Linked DNA regions of Homo sapiens: all the other regions are linked to region 1. The links are contacts of gene promoters, found by promoter capture Hi-C in human tissues and cell types (Jung and others, 2019). All regions are on one chromosome and are shown on one strand. The core of a region is centred on a gene start or on the middle of the fragment in contact, and the rest is flanking DNA. Distances in the headings are between cores, read along the strand shown.

Region 1 (2,700 bases), core at 152-2,651:
CACCTTGTTCTCAAATACCTGGTAAGGTGGTGACCATTCTCATTCTCTTTCTCTCTCTGCCTGACACAGGGAAAAAAAATCATTTCGTCTCAGTCGTCAAAAGCCTCAATTTCCTCAACTCTGAAAAGGCCAGCTTTAATGTATGCCAAGCACAGTATTAGACCTCAAAAACCAAGACAGCTCCACGTGGCCACTCTAAACAGGACAGATTATCTGCCAGTATAATCGCCGGTTACAGAAACCCACAGTTTAACCACTCCATCACTTACAGCTGGCCTCGATTGTGGAAAGGCTGAGTGTCAGCAAGAACACCCCGAACCAGGATGCTCCCTAGAGTCTGATTCGTTCGTGAAAACACTCCATTAAAACTCTGTACCGAAACGCTGATAATCCACATGTAAAGGGAGAAAAGAGCTCCACATCCAAGAGACTCACCTACTTCGTTTTTTCTAACTCTGCAGGAAGGAGTGAAACCAGCATTACAGGGCTAAGACGTACTAATTCTACACTGATGCAGTAACTGGTAGGAGACATAATGTTTTAAGACATCATAGGTTTAAATAGGCGAGAGTTAAAAAACAGGTTCGAACAAGTTTATTTGCAAAGAGAGGCAGGAAGGTTCCAGCCCTACCCAGGCAGTCGTGCTAGTACCGAGCCAGGGTTGGGTCGGGAAATTCAGGAAGCAGGGCTGAGTTTTCCCTTCGCCCAGACCTGCGCCCGGTAGTTTGGAAGTCAGGCTTCGAGACATTCTCAAAGGTACAGAGCCCACGCTCGACTACGAGATGCCAAGCGCAACCTGCCTGGGTTGTTTGACCCGAGTTTTATTCAGGGCATAGCAAAGGAGACGGTGCCTAAACCCACTTTTCTTCCTGGATTCATCCGACAAGCAGAGTGGAGAGGGCTACGGAGCTCAGCGCTATTCACCAGTGCTCGGCGCAAGAGGCGACACGCCCCTGGAGCAGTCGGGATCCTCCGCCCGAGCCCGGCACGCCCCGCTCCACGCGGAGTCCCGGAGGCCGGACGGGAAGACCCCGGGGTAGCCTCTCGGGCTTCCCCCTGCCCCTTCCCGCCCGCCCAGGGCACAGGATTTCCCGGACGGCTGAGCGCCGCGGGGCCAGCCCGAGCGACCCACCCGGGCCCTACGTTCGGCCGCGGAGCTGGGAGCGCACCCAGGCAGGTCCTCCACGCCTGGACTCCTGGCCCGGTTCTCCGATCTGACAACCCCCGCGCTGCGCCCGGCCTCGCTCACCTGGCCCGCACAGCACTGAGCTGACATCGCGGCGGCCAATGCCGAAGGCGCGCTCGCTGGCTCCCCGCGCCGCACGGGCCCTCCTGGCTGCCTCGCGCCTCGAGCGCTGGGCTCAGCCGCAGCTCACACTTGAACGAAGATCAGCCTCGGCGAAGCGCCTAGGCGCCGAGGCCTGGGTAAAAACAACTGCGGCCAAGCCCCGCCCCGCCGCCGGCCCCGCCTCGCCCGCCCCCAGCCCCGCCCCGTGCCCGCCCCTTCCCGGGCGCCCGGCGGCGGAGCAGGCTCGACCCGGGCTCGCACTTCCGCTGGCGTCAGGCGGGTGGGCTGCTGCGATCACTTCCCGGTTGGGGCGCCGAGCTCCGGAGTCGGCCGCCAGCCTTTGGGCCCCACGCTCCGGGTCTGGTGCGCGGTCTGGCCGCGCTCGGGCCCTCGCCAAATGAGAGCGCAGCGCCTCTCCGCCTTCGGATCCAGAGAAAGAGCTTGTTGCTGCCTCTAAAAGGTTGGAGCCTTAGTAAGCGGTTCCTGCCTTTCCTGCACAGACCAGACCGCCGGGTGCTGGTCTGCGCTCTGCCGCGCGCCGACTGGGACAGCCCACCCACGAGATCCTTGTTCCTGAAATCCCTTTCCTTCCCTCATCTGCCAAGAAAACTTTCAACTTTTGGGCTCTCCGCGCCTCCCAAGCTTCCTCGAATCCCTGGGCCCTTGACTGTTCTGCCCTGATGGCACTTGGTGAGAGATCCATTGAGAGCCCTTTCCGTGCCTTCCTGAATATTGATATGTTTTCCAGCCTCTCCTCCTGCGCTGGCCCAAGGACTCATTTTCCGTCCCTGCTTCCTCACTAAAAAGAGGGTGCCCAATAATTGCTTGTTCCATACAGAAGGCAGGGAGGCCGTCTCTAGGTTTTCTCCCACTCAGATCTGCTGTCCTCACAGCCACCTCCCCAAGAGGAATGAAGGTATTTCTTTTTTTTTTTTCTTTTTTTTCTCTGAGACGGAGCTTCACTCTGTCGCCCAGGCTGGAGTGCAGTGACGCGATCTCGGCTCACTGCAACCTCTGCCTCCCGAGTAGCTGGGATTACAGGCGCCTGCCACCACGCCCGGCTAATTTTTTGTATTTTTAGTAGAGACGGGGTTTCACCATCTTGGCCAGGCTGGTCTCGAACTCCTGACCTCAGGTGATCCGCCCGCCTCGGCCTCCCAAAGTGCTGGGATTACAGGCGTGAGCCACCGCGCCCTGCCGGAATGAAGATATTTCTGTTAGTGCGATTTTTGCGCCAATCCCTTTGCTCTTTCAAATAAGCATTACCGTACCCATTTTAGCGGTGAGGCAACTGAAGCCCAGAGAGGTTAAATAACTTGCCCAAAGCCTCACAGCAAAGTTGAGGAAGTAAAACTGGGCCTGGAATCCACTCGTCTGATCCCCTGGCACATGACGCAAGGCTTGACCTTAGA
Region 2 (2,726 bases), core at 210-2,709, 590 kb before region 1:
CTACTGCAAATACTGGTGAAGTCTTTAGTGGAAGAAAAATTTCAGGTTTCCAAATTGCCAAATAGAGTAAATTTCTTCTCTCTTTTTCAAAGAGGAGCCTAGTTCAGGATTTATAAAGTTTCTTAGTGTGTGTTTTAAATGGCTTTACATTTTTTCCCCTTCTTCTTTTTGACAGGAGTCTTTTAGTCCTGCTATACAGCTGCACCTTGTACATCAAGCTCCATGTAATGTTCCTCCTTACCTCTCAAAGAATGAATCAAACCTTGGGGACCTCTTACTGGGCTTTCTTAAATATTATGCTACAGAATTTGAGTAAGTAAAACTTTAAATTGTGTTTGTTCACTTATATGTGTGTGTGTGTGTATGTATGTATATATATGAATACGAATATATAAGTAAATGCTACAGATTTAGTCAGGAGCTGTGTTTGTCACTTCCAGTGTTGTAAAGTTGTCCAGAAATGTATAGTTTATAAAATTTCCTATGTGACAATGAATTATTGGAAGCTAGATAGATTTTATATTCTTAGCTAATAAATACATTTATAGTTCAGTAGGCCCAGTTTTAGTTGATTTCAATAGTGGTAGGCCCTATGTGTTGGTCCTGTGCAGGTGCTGTGTAGTTTGGAACATCCATTTTCTATACACTTAAAATGTATAGTAAAAAAACACTGCTAAGAAAGACTAATGAAGATCTATTTAATACTTGGCATCTTCGTAAATAGTTGTGTTAGTGTGATATACAAATTGAGGAATGTGTCTTTTCCTTTTTTCTTTTCTTTTTTGAAGATGATATGTAAACATAAAACAAAGAATGTATAATCAGGCTGGACAGAACTGAAAGTTCTTATGTGAGTTCTAAGTCCAGAGAGAGTGGAGTTAGGAGTTACTTGCAGCTCTTCTGATCAATCTGGAAAAGCTTGAGGGGGGAAGAGAGAAGATTGAGGAATTGTACAGTATTAGAGGCAGGTACAGTTACCATTGGATACCACTTTGAAGAAGTTTGCATAGGGTAATAATAATAGTAATAATAATAATAAATTGCTATTACTAGATGGGAAAATGGTTCTAAACATATATTTATTATATTATTATTTATATTTATCATTTCATTCCGTTTACATAATTGTTATCTGGTGTGTGGTATATTATGCCCATTTTACCAGTGAAGCATAGAGAGAGGGGAAGTAACGTGCTCCAAGATCACATAGCTAATAAGAGTAGTATTTCAGGCCGGGCGCGGTAGCTCATGCCTGTAATCCCAACACTTTGGGAGGCCGAGGCAGGTGAGGTCGCGAGTTCGAGACCAGCCAGACCAACACGGAGAAACCCCTTCTCTACTAAAAATACAAAATTAGCTGGGCATGGTGGTGCATGCCTATAATCCCAGCTACTTGGGAGGCTGAGACAGGAGAAACGCTTGAACCTGGGAGGTGGGGGTTGCAGTAAGCTGAGATTGTGCCATTGCACTCCAGCCTGGGCAACAAGAGCGAAACTCTATCTCAAAAAAAAAAAAAGAAAAAAGGATTTCAGATAGCTTTGACACAGAATTCACACTTAACTGTCATACTGGAGAAGTATAAAAAGGTAAGAGCTTTTATTTATTTATTTATTTATTTATTTTTTTGAGACGGAGTCTCACTGTGTTGCCCAGGCTGGAGTGCAGTGGCGTGATCTCGGCTCACTGCAACCTCTGCCTCCCTGGTTCAAGCAATTCTCCTGCCTCAGCCTCCCAAGTTGCTGGGACTACAAGCACCCGTGACCACGCCTGGCTAATTTTTGTATTTTTAGTAGAGATGGGGTTTCATCATATGGGCCAGGCTGGTCTCAAACTCTTGACCTAGTGATCTGCCCGCCTCAGCCTCCCAAAGTGCTGGGATTACAGGTGTGAGCCACCGTGCTCGGCCACGGAGCTTTCATTTATATTAAGATGAAGAAAGATTAAAGACTGGATGAGACATAGTACATAAATAGACTGTGAAGGTTTAATGGTTATTCTAGAGTTCTCTTTAAGATATTGCAATAACAATAGCTAATGTTTAGTGAGAATTTATCTAGTGTGCTGTAGTAAGCTGAGTGATTCCCATGGATTTCAGTTAATCCTCATAATAACCTCTGTCAAGCTTAGGGAATTTGTGTACATGAAACTTGCCCATGGCAATCTACAGCTAGATTGTGGGAGAGTTGGGATTCACTTTCAAGCTGGACTCCAAAACTACATTCTTAATTGTTAGACTGTATTGACATTGTTTATTATGTTATATAAATTAGGGACTGGGGGATGTTTGTGGAGGGGGAAAAGGATTCACAGAACAAAGATAACTTTTTTCCCATGTATAGTGTAGGATTAGAGCATCTGTATACAAATACCTTGAAAATCACCTGCTTTGTTGAACAGAAACAAGATAGTGGATGTGTAGGTTTGTATGTTAATTTAATATTAAAGGAAACTAGTCTGCTGGGTCAGATGATACTGATGCTTGGAAAGAGGTTTCAGAACTTCACCATCTAGTACATTTGTCATTTCATATGAGATATTTTCAGAAATTTGAAATGTGGGGATCACAGCCAAGAATGTAGTCATGGTAATAAACTAGAAGCTGTATAAAAGAATTATGGCAATTGTTAAAAATGTCTATAAGGATTTCTTCTGAACTTTGAGGTAATCATTTAAAAAGTTCTTTTTTCTTTTTCTTTTTTTTTTTTTGAAACAGAACCTTGCTCTGT
Region 3 (2,700 bases), core at 35-2,534, 570 kb before region 1:
CTGGTAAAAATGGGACCAACCTTTGAGGCAGAAGGAATTGTGTTAATAAAGACACAGTGGAGTGACTTGACAATGTTGGGAACTCCTGACTTCTAAAGACACCTGACCAGCTGGGCGTGGGGGCTCACACCTGTAATTCCAGAACTTTGGGAGGCTGAGGTGGGCAGATCACCTGAGGTCAGGAGTTCGAGACTAGGCTAGCCAATATGGTGAAACCCCGTCTCTACTAAAAATACAAAAATTAGCTGGGCATGGTGGTGCGCGCCTGTAGTCCCAGCTACTCGGGAGGCTGAGGCAGGAGAATCGCGTGAACCCAGGAGGTGGAAGTTGCACTGGACCGAGATCGCGCCATTGCACTCCAGTCTGGGCGACAAGAGCAAGACTCCATCTCAAAAAAAAAAAAAGAGTAGACAGGTAAAACATGGCCTGTTAGGCAACCGTTACCTTTGTGAGGGTGTTGGGGTTCAGTCTTTGAGCAGTGGGAAGCCATTGAGGGGTTTTAACCACAACTTGATCCGGGGAAAGGTTTGGGGCATTTGGGCCAGTTTCAGACAAAACTTAGCTTTTTGCTAACGTGGGGGAAATTGCTCCTCCTCAAGGTTTAAGATGAGTGGAGATAAAGTTTCCTGGCTCAATAACAGGGACCACTGAGCAAGAAAATACACAGTATATTGACTTGCGATATAAAGAGAGCCGGGACGGAACACTGGTTCAAAACTGGGCTTTTGAGCAGGGCACGCCTAGCTTTGTTTCTCATTGGGTCATTTTACTAGCAATGACAGCCTGAGCTGCTGGAGCTCTTCGGAGTCTCAGTTTCCTCATCTGGGAAACCAGCACTACAGTAAAACCTTCTACAGGTACCACCACAGAATCGAGGTAATGAAAGCGAGACCCTTAGCAGAGTGCCTGGTAGTTAAGTGCCCAGCTCAGGGTATTGTTTGGGATAAAGGGTCCAGAAAGTAGCTCAGCTCAAAACCGAAAAGACTCACTCTGGAGGAAATAAGAGACGGGGCTAGGTTGCCTTTCCTCCTTTGAACCCCCTGGTGCAGCCGGAGCCCGCGCCCCTTAAAGTGATCTCCAGTTGTCCGAAAGGCCCGCCAGGGATCTGGCGAAACGGGGGCGGGGGAGGGCTCAGGGAAGAGGAGAAGCTGAGCCCGGGCCCCAGAAGCTCGGTGGCGAAACTTTGACGCCTTCTATTTAAAGTCGCGGGGCTCGCCCGCCCCCGGCGCCGGGAACCCGAGCCGCCCCCGCAGGGGCAGGGCTGGGGAGGGCAGGGGCCAGAGCAGTCGGAGGGAGAACACCAGGCGCGGCGCGGGCGGCTCCGGCTCCGGCCCCGGCCCAGGCCCGGGAGAGGCGATGGCGAGCCGCGATAGCAACCACGCTGGCGAGAGCTTTCTCGGCTCCGACGGGGACGAGGAGGCGACCCGGGAGCTGGAGACCGAGGAGGAGTCGGAGGGCGAGGAGGACGAGACGGCGGCGGAGTCGGAGGAGGAGCCGGACTCCAGGTAGCGCGAGCCTCTCTCCTCGGCCCAGGGCCTGCAGGGCAGCTAGCAGCACCCTTGCTTGTTTGCTTTAAGTTTTTAAGCTCTGGGGTTCGTTTGCCTCGAGCTAGGCACTTTCTCTCTGGGTGCACTGTCGTTTAAAAGAACTTGAAGGTGAAGGTGCTCGCTGTCAGCTGGAGTGACAGGCCCGCCTGCAGCAGAGTTCATTACCCCCGCCCCCAGCTCCTTGTGACTCGCTGCTCTTGTTTATTCCTGAGGATTTACTTAGGTCCTGCATAACTGCCGAAATGTGCTGGAACACGTACATCTGGCCCGAGGCACAGGAACAATCGCGAAATCCTGCGCTAGAGGAGAAGGGGGTGGGGTGGAGGCGGTGAAGGCGCACTGGTACCTTCCGATGAATGGCGGTCTCCCCGGGGGCCTAGCAGTAGGCTAGGCTGCAATAAGGTGACCTTATTTTGATACAAAGGCCCATAAATTCTTTGGGGGAAAAGAAGCATGAGTTTCAGTAATCCCTGTTCTTCAAGTCCTGGTCCCAAATCCCAAATATCAGTTTCCGTGAATGCGATGAAGTAATACTATGTACAAAAGATGCACCTCCCACCCTTCGATCTCCCACCCTCCGTCCCTTTAAGAAGGCCCTAAAATGAGAATAATAGAAATCATCTAATGTCTATTTGGATTAGCTTCTACCTTCACTTGTTTTCCTTGAGTATGAGTTTTGGGTTTTTTCCTGACTGTGTGTCAGTCAGTGATGTCTCTTCCTCAGTCTGTTCATAACAGTAGAAAGGCTTTGAAGGTGGCAGGTGGGTGTGTACCATCTCAGAACGCCCAGCTTACCTAATCAAAGCCAGCAGAGCCGATGTTGAAGAAGTAGCCCATAGAGGGGCATTGAGGAGGATGGATGGTCAGACAAGAAGTCCTGAATGTATGTCACCTGTTTATCAAACAGCTGCCAAGTGGGAAGCAAGCACAGTCCCTGGCCTCAAGGACCTTGTGGAAAAAGTTTCCCTAACTTTTTCCCCTATGGGGAAACGTTTCCCTAACATGGGGAGTGTGAGACTATATAGAGGTGGAAGGGAGGACTATGGGTACTGTGCAAGGGCAGAAGAGGGAGTGTTGGGCTGGAGCTGCCTTGAAGTAGTGGGCAGGGACTACAAACAGGAAGAGCAGAGGAGAAGGCACCTGTAGGAAGTGG
Region 4 (2,700 bases), core at 86-2,585, 610 kb before region 1:
ATTGATGGTTTTGCACTATTTACAAAGTAAGTATAATGGGGTTTTACCCAATTTTTAAAAGTAAAAGACAGCTTTATTATGGTGTCTTCTCTGTTGACCCTATTTTCAAATAGTATTGTTTTAAAAGTTCTTTCTAAGGTCCATGAAACACATTTCCTGTTTTGTTGCTTTGGACAAATGTTTCAGAAGTGTTATTCCTTGGAAAATATAGAAGTTTCACTGTTTTTTTTTTTATTTTTTGGAAGTTTTTCTATAGTCACTTTTGTTTTCAAAGAACTTTCACCACTGTATTGTGGACCCATTATCTTGAAGCAGACGAATGTTCAAAAGGCCTATAAAAGTTAGCTCAAGTACTATTCATCATATTTTTAATTTTGAATTTGAGACAGGAATTAAATTATTTTCCTGTTGGTTAAAGAAGCTTTTAATCTCTGAGTTGCCCTCCTTAACTAGATTTTATCTTCATAGGGCTGTTTTATCAGATTGGCTCCCAAATTTTAATTTTGTCTGGTTAGTCATTGTTTATGAGGCCATTCTGGTAAAAGCTATACTTTTGTCGCATGCATAGTGGCAAACAGTAATAAGTGAACACTTGTAATTTGGACCATTCATAAGTGTGAGAATTTTTACGGTACTGAAAATTTCCTAGACGTATAGGACAGACTGACTGGATCTATTTGAAACCCTTACTTTCATATTTCTCAAAAATATCTTACATATGTAGCAATCCAAGAAATAAACATTAAGCTGCTTTATACTTTCTACTTAGCCTGACACCAAGAGTTGTTAAAAGATGGATGCATCTACTGTTTTGTAGTTATTAGACCAGGAGACTGAGATGTTTAATAACTAACCAACTGAACATATGAATATGTGGTGACATGAAGACCGAGTGAAAGACTTGGTATGAATGTAGTAGAAGACCGTTTGCCAGGATGTCTGGGGCTTGATCTGTTCTGGGTTGGTGATACTTCCACAGTTTAGAGTCTTGGTTTCCAAAGATTACAATAATAGGAGAAAACATATTTTAGCATATATAATACTCATTTCTTCATTCTATGAATATGTATAGAATACCTACCAAATAAATGCTAGGTATTCTAGGATCTGAGAATACAGCAGTGAACAACATACAAAAACAATTACCTTCTTCATGAAGCTTACATTTTTGACTTGTAAAATGTCACATTTTCATAGCTGTTACCTACCAAAACGTGAATTATTAAACAACTCACAGATTACTAATAAAATGTGACATTTTTACCACGGTTGTGAATTGAGCTGCTGATAGAGCACTATCAACATGTGATATGCTCAATAATAATTATTACAGTGTAGTCATTAAAAAAAAGTATTGAAAAATATCCTTTTATTGCATTGTTTGGTGCTCCTTGTATTTAGATTCTGAGAGGGATAACAGATAATATTAGCAATTTTGTCAACAGCAGCTTGGGCTTGGAAAGTTGAGATGATTTGATGCCCTTATAGCTGTGTTTCTGTACTGAGGATACTGGGAACTGGGAAAAGAAGAAGGCACCTTTCCTTATGCTATAGATCAAAAATGGTTAGGGTTGGGGATTACAATTTTGTTAACCTAATTCCTGGTAGACTGGGCTTCTTTGGATAGGGATTGGAGGATGATACCCAAATTGAGAATTTCTTTATAGTGAGTCACTTTTACTAGTATAGGAGGATAGATAGAAGTGGTTGGGACAAAAACAAAGATTGTCTTACCAATGCCTTAAAAAAGAGCAGTTCAGAGGTGAGATTGGTTGTCAGGAATTCTCTATTTTGTTTCAGAATTATTATGTTTAAAATAATACTTAAAACGTAGTGATATTAAAAGTTATTTTACATTTTAAAATTCATTTTGAATAAGTTGTGTATACATTTCATAGAAAATCCTGAGAATATACTAAAGTGGACAGAAAAAAAATACATTTCCCATGAATTTTCACACCCAAAAATTGTTATTGTTAATATTTGTTTTATTTTTTCTGGCTTTTGTTTTTTTTGCAAAGGTTTCAAGATGTTTAGCCAAATATAAATACATAAATGTCAAGTTCAGGTCTTTTAATTCCAAAAGTTGGGGACAAATAAATAACTGTAAAGGGTGGATGTTCTTTTTTCCTCTACAAAAACATGGTCTTCTTAAATAATGTTCTTACATTTTCTTTTACCTGTTCATTACATGATTCTCAGACTTTTAGATTTCAAGGAAAGTAATATCCAAAAAAAAAAGAACCAAACTGGAGTTTTTATTTTGCTATGTTAAGTATTAGAACCAAAAAACTGCTACCAATTACTACCATCACTTCATAAAAGATGGTGCATAAAATACCAAAAAAGCAATGATATAATCTCAGAATAATGGACAGACCATCACAAAACAGTCTGATTGTTACACCCTTTCCACTTTTGGCACACACACACACATTTTGATTTTTTTTGTTTATGACAGCTTAGTAACCTTTCCTCTATGGTGGAGAATTTGGGGAGCATTTTTTCATATTTATCTTAATTGAAGTAGTCTTAGAGCTAGCTAGTTCTCAAGAAAATCTTGATTCTACCTTTAGACACATCTTCATCCCATCTTTGTCTGGAGATAGGGTGCCATTATTTGACTAAAGTGTTTATGTTAATGTTCTTAATTTCATAGTGTGTCAACCTTGTCCGTTCTTGGTAATCAAAGTTTTATGG
Region 5 (2,700 bases), core at 87-2,586, 650 kb before region 1:
ACATATATATATACGCTTTTTTTTTTTTTTAGACCGAGTCTTGCTCTGTTGCCTAGGCTGGAGTGCAGTGGTGCCATCTCGGCTCACTGCAACCTCTGCCTCCCAGGTTCAAGTGATTCTCCTGCCTCAGCCTCCTGAGTAGCTGGGACTACAGGCGCGTGCCATCACGCCCAGCTAATTTTTTGTATTTTTAGTAGAGATGGGGTTTCACCGTGTTAGCCAGGATGGTCTCGATCTGCTGACGCTGTGATCCGCCCACCTCGGCCTCCCAAAGTTCTGGGATTACGGGCGTGAGCCACTGTACCTGGCCTAATTTTTTGTATTTTTAGTAGAGAGGGGGTTCCTCCATGTTGGTCAGGCTGGTCTTGAACTCCTGACCTCAGGTAATCTGCCCGCCTCAGCCTTCCAAAGTGCTGGGATTACAGGCATGAGCCACTGTGCCCGGCATTTTTTTTTTGAGACGGAGTTTCCCTAGCTTCCCTCTTGTTGCCCAGGCTGGAGTGCAATGGCACGATCTCAGCTCACTGCAACCTCCCGAGGCAGAGGTTGCAGTGAGCTGAGATCGTGCCATTGCACTCCAGCCTGGACAACAATTCAAGCGATTCTCCTGCCTCAGCCTCTTGAGTAGCTGGGATGACAGGCACCCACCACTACGCTCAGCTAATTTTTGTATTTTAGAGATGGGATTTCGCTATGTTGGCCAGACTGGTCTTGAACTCTGATCTCAGGTGATCCACCCCCCTCAGCCTCCCAAAGTGCTGGGATTACAGGCATGGACCACTGAGGCTGGCCATTTTCTTTTAAAAGACTGTTTTCAACTGCTCTGAAGGGAGCCAGTATAACTTGGTAGTTAAGCAGTTAAAAATAACAAGCTTGGAAACAAACAAACCTGTTTGTATCCTAGCTGTAGCTTTAAATTATTGTCAGGCCTTGGGCAGTTTACTTTATAGCTCTTATCTTCAGCTTTGCCATTTGCAAAACAGGGGAAATAATGGAACTCCTTTTGTAAAATTGGTTGTGAGGAATAATGACATGTGTACATAAAGTGCTTTGCATCCCGTTTGGTCGAGCAGTGTTTATGGAGTACCAACCCTGTGGCAGGCATTGTGCCAAGCTCCTGCTTATCTCAGTACTGCTTTCTTTCTTATCTCAAATTTTCACCTAACTTCTACTCTTCAAGGAAAGGTTCCCCTGAACCCTCTGAGTTAGTGCAGTTAGTTCAGGTTCTCCATGAAGTGAATGCCAAGAAGAGACATGGACGTATGAATGTACCAATGCGCACTCATGCACAAAGGAAGTAGAACTCCCAGATCTTGTAAATTCCCTCCAGTTTACTCAGTGGGCATATTCTTCTACCTTCTCTCTTCTGGGCCAAGAGAGCCCTGTAGGCTGGTTAGCATCTCTCTAAACAATCTGCCTCCCCACTCCCATCTCCTTTTGAAAAAGCAACATTTTCAGCAGACATAACAGAAGCATGTTGGGTATACAGGAATAGGGATGTAAATTAACAAATCCAGGATGAAGGAACCTAGAATTAGCTGTAGAATGATTGCAAATCACAGAAGAGCTTGCATGCCAAATACAAAATAAAAAATCACAAAAACCACATCAAAAGTCCCCAAGTCCCTCACTACTACCCTTCTTTGCTGATTCTGCCCCAAGGTTTGGGGTTGAGTGTGGGAGGAGGCTACGCTCTGCTGGGGGAGAAGGCATGGAGCGCCGGAGTCAGGCTATCTCTAAATTCAAAGCTTGTCTTTGGCATTATTTGTGGGACATTGAACAAGTTGCTTGGCTGGAGATTCAGTGTTCTCACCCATAAATTGGAGATAATTATAGTAGCTCTATTAGAGGGCTGTTAATCAGATTATAAAGGGTAATTGATGTAAAATGCTTAGCAAGGTGCCTGGCATATAGTAAGCTCCCAGTAAATCTCTCTACTATCAATTTTTTCAGGGCATCTGCAATACCCTACCTACTTAAGCCATTTTCAAAATGTGATCCACATACATTTTCAGGCATCATGATGTCAAAAACTATATAAAAATACTTAGAATTGGCCAGGCATGATAGCTCATGCCTGTAATCTCAGCACTTTGGGAGGCCGAGGTGGGTGGATCTCCTGAGGTCAGGAGATCGAGACCATCCTGGCCAACATGGTGAAACCCCATCTGTACTAAAAATACAAAAATTAGCTGGGCATGGTGGCTCATGCCTGTAATCCCAGCTACTTGGGAGGCTGAGGCAGGAGAATCGCTTGAACCAGGAAGTCAGAGGTTGCAGTGAGCCAAGATCGAGCCACTGCACTCCAACCTGGTGACAGAGTGAGACTCCGTCTCAAAAAAGAAAAAAATAACACTAAGAGTTTATTTACTGTTTTTCGTGTTAAAATTGGCTTTGATGGTTCAAAAGCAAACTATTGCAGATCACAATGTGATATCACTCTACAACTACCAAGATTGCTATAAGAAAAAAGACAGTTATAAGCATTGATGAGGATGTGGAGAAATTGAAACACTCACAGGCTGCTGATGTTAATGTAAAATAGTGCAGCCACTTTGGCAAACAGTTTGGTAGTTCCTCAAAAAATTAAACATAGTGTTACCCTATGACCTAAAAATTTAACTCCTAGGTATATACCCAAGATAGTTGAAAACATGTTTAAACAGAAACTTATACATGAATGTTTGTATTAGTCTGTTC

The links. The method cuts DNA at HindIII sites, captures the fragments that hold promoters and counts their contacts. A contact is called where the count stands out against the background at its distance.
Region 2: a fragment that was not itself captured here is called in contact with the fragment with the promoter of SERINC5 in region 1 in 1 of the 25 tissues and cell types used here (aorta).
Region 3: a contact is called between the fragment with the promoter of CMYA5 here and the fragment with the promoter of SERINC5 in region 1, in 1 of the 25 tissues and cell types used here (neural progenitor cells).
Region 4: a fragment that was not itself captured here is called in contact with the fragment with the promoter of SERINC5 in region 1 in 2 of the 25 tissues and cell types used here (adrenal gland and dorsolateral prefrontal cortex).
Region 5: a contact is called between a fragment that was not itself captured here and the fragment with the promoter of SERINC5 in region 1, in 1 of the 25 tissues and cell types used here (dorsolateral prefrontal cortex).

What each region holds. Positions count from the first base shown.
Region 1 is chr5:80,254,647-80,257,346 of GRCh38, forward strand. SERINC5 (serine incorporator 5) reads right to left here and starts at 1,402. Exons shown (of 12, transcript NM_001174072.3): 1 at 1,250-1,402. The coding sequence starts at 1,276. RefSeq lists silencers at 885-1,164, 1,275-1,714 and enhancers at 1,568-2,501, 2,502-2,700. The HindIII fragment of the contact is 12,197 bases long and covers 1-2,700 here.
Region 2 is chr5:79,668,717-79,671,442 of GRCh38, forward strand. It overlaps TENT2 (terminal nucleotidyltransferase 2), which reads left to right. Exons shown (of 15, transcript NM_001114394.3): 12 at 176-312. Among named protein-coding and RNA genes, the nearest start is that of CMYA5, 20 kb to the right of the region's middle. The HindIII fragment of the contact is 3,773 bases long and covers 1-2,726 here.
Region 3 is chr5:79,688,552-79,691,251 of GRCh38, forward strand. It overlaps CMYA5 (cardiomyopathy associated 5), which reads left to right and starts at 1,285. Exons shown (of 13, transcript NM_153610.5): 1 at 1,285-1,505. The coding sequence starts at 1,357. RefSeq lists an enhancer at 795-1,296. The HindIII fragment of the contact is 12,786 bases long and covers 1-2,700 here.
Region 4 is chr5:79,649,165-79,651,864 of GRCh38, forward strand. It overlaps TENT2 (terminal nucleotidyltransferase 2), which reads left to right. Exons shown (of 15, transcript NM_001114394.3): 10 at 1-26. Among named protein-coding and RNA genes, the nearest start is that of TENT2, 38 kb to the left of the region's middle. The HindIII fragment of the contact is 4,647 bases long and covers 1-2,700 here.
Region 5 is chr5:79,602,008-79,604,707 of GRCh38, forward strand. No RefSeq gene overlaps it. Among named protein-coding and RNA genes, the nearest start is that of TENT2, 9.1 kb to the right of the region's middle. The HindIII fragment of the contact is 5,080 bases long and covers 1-2,700 here.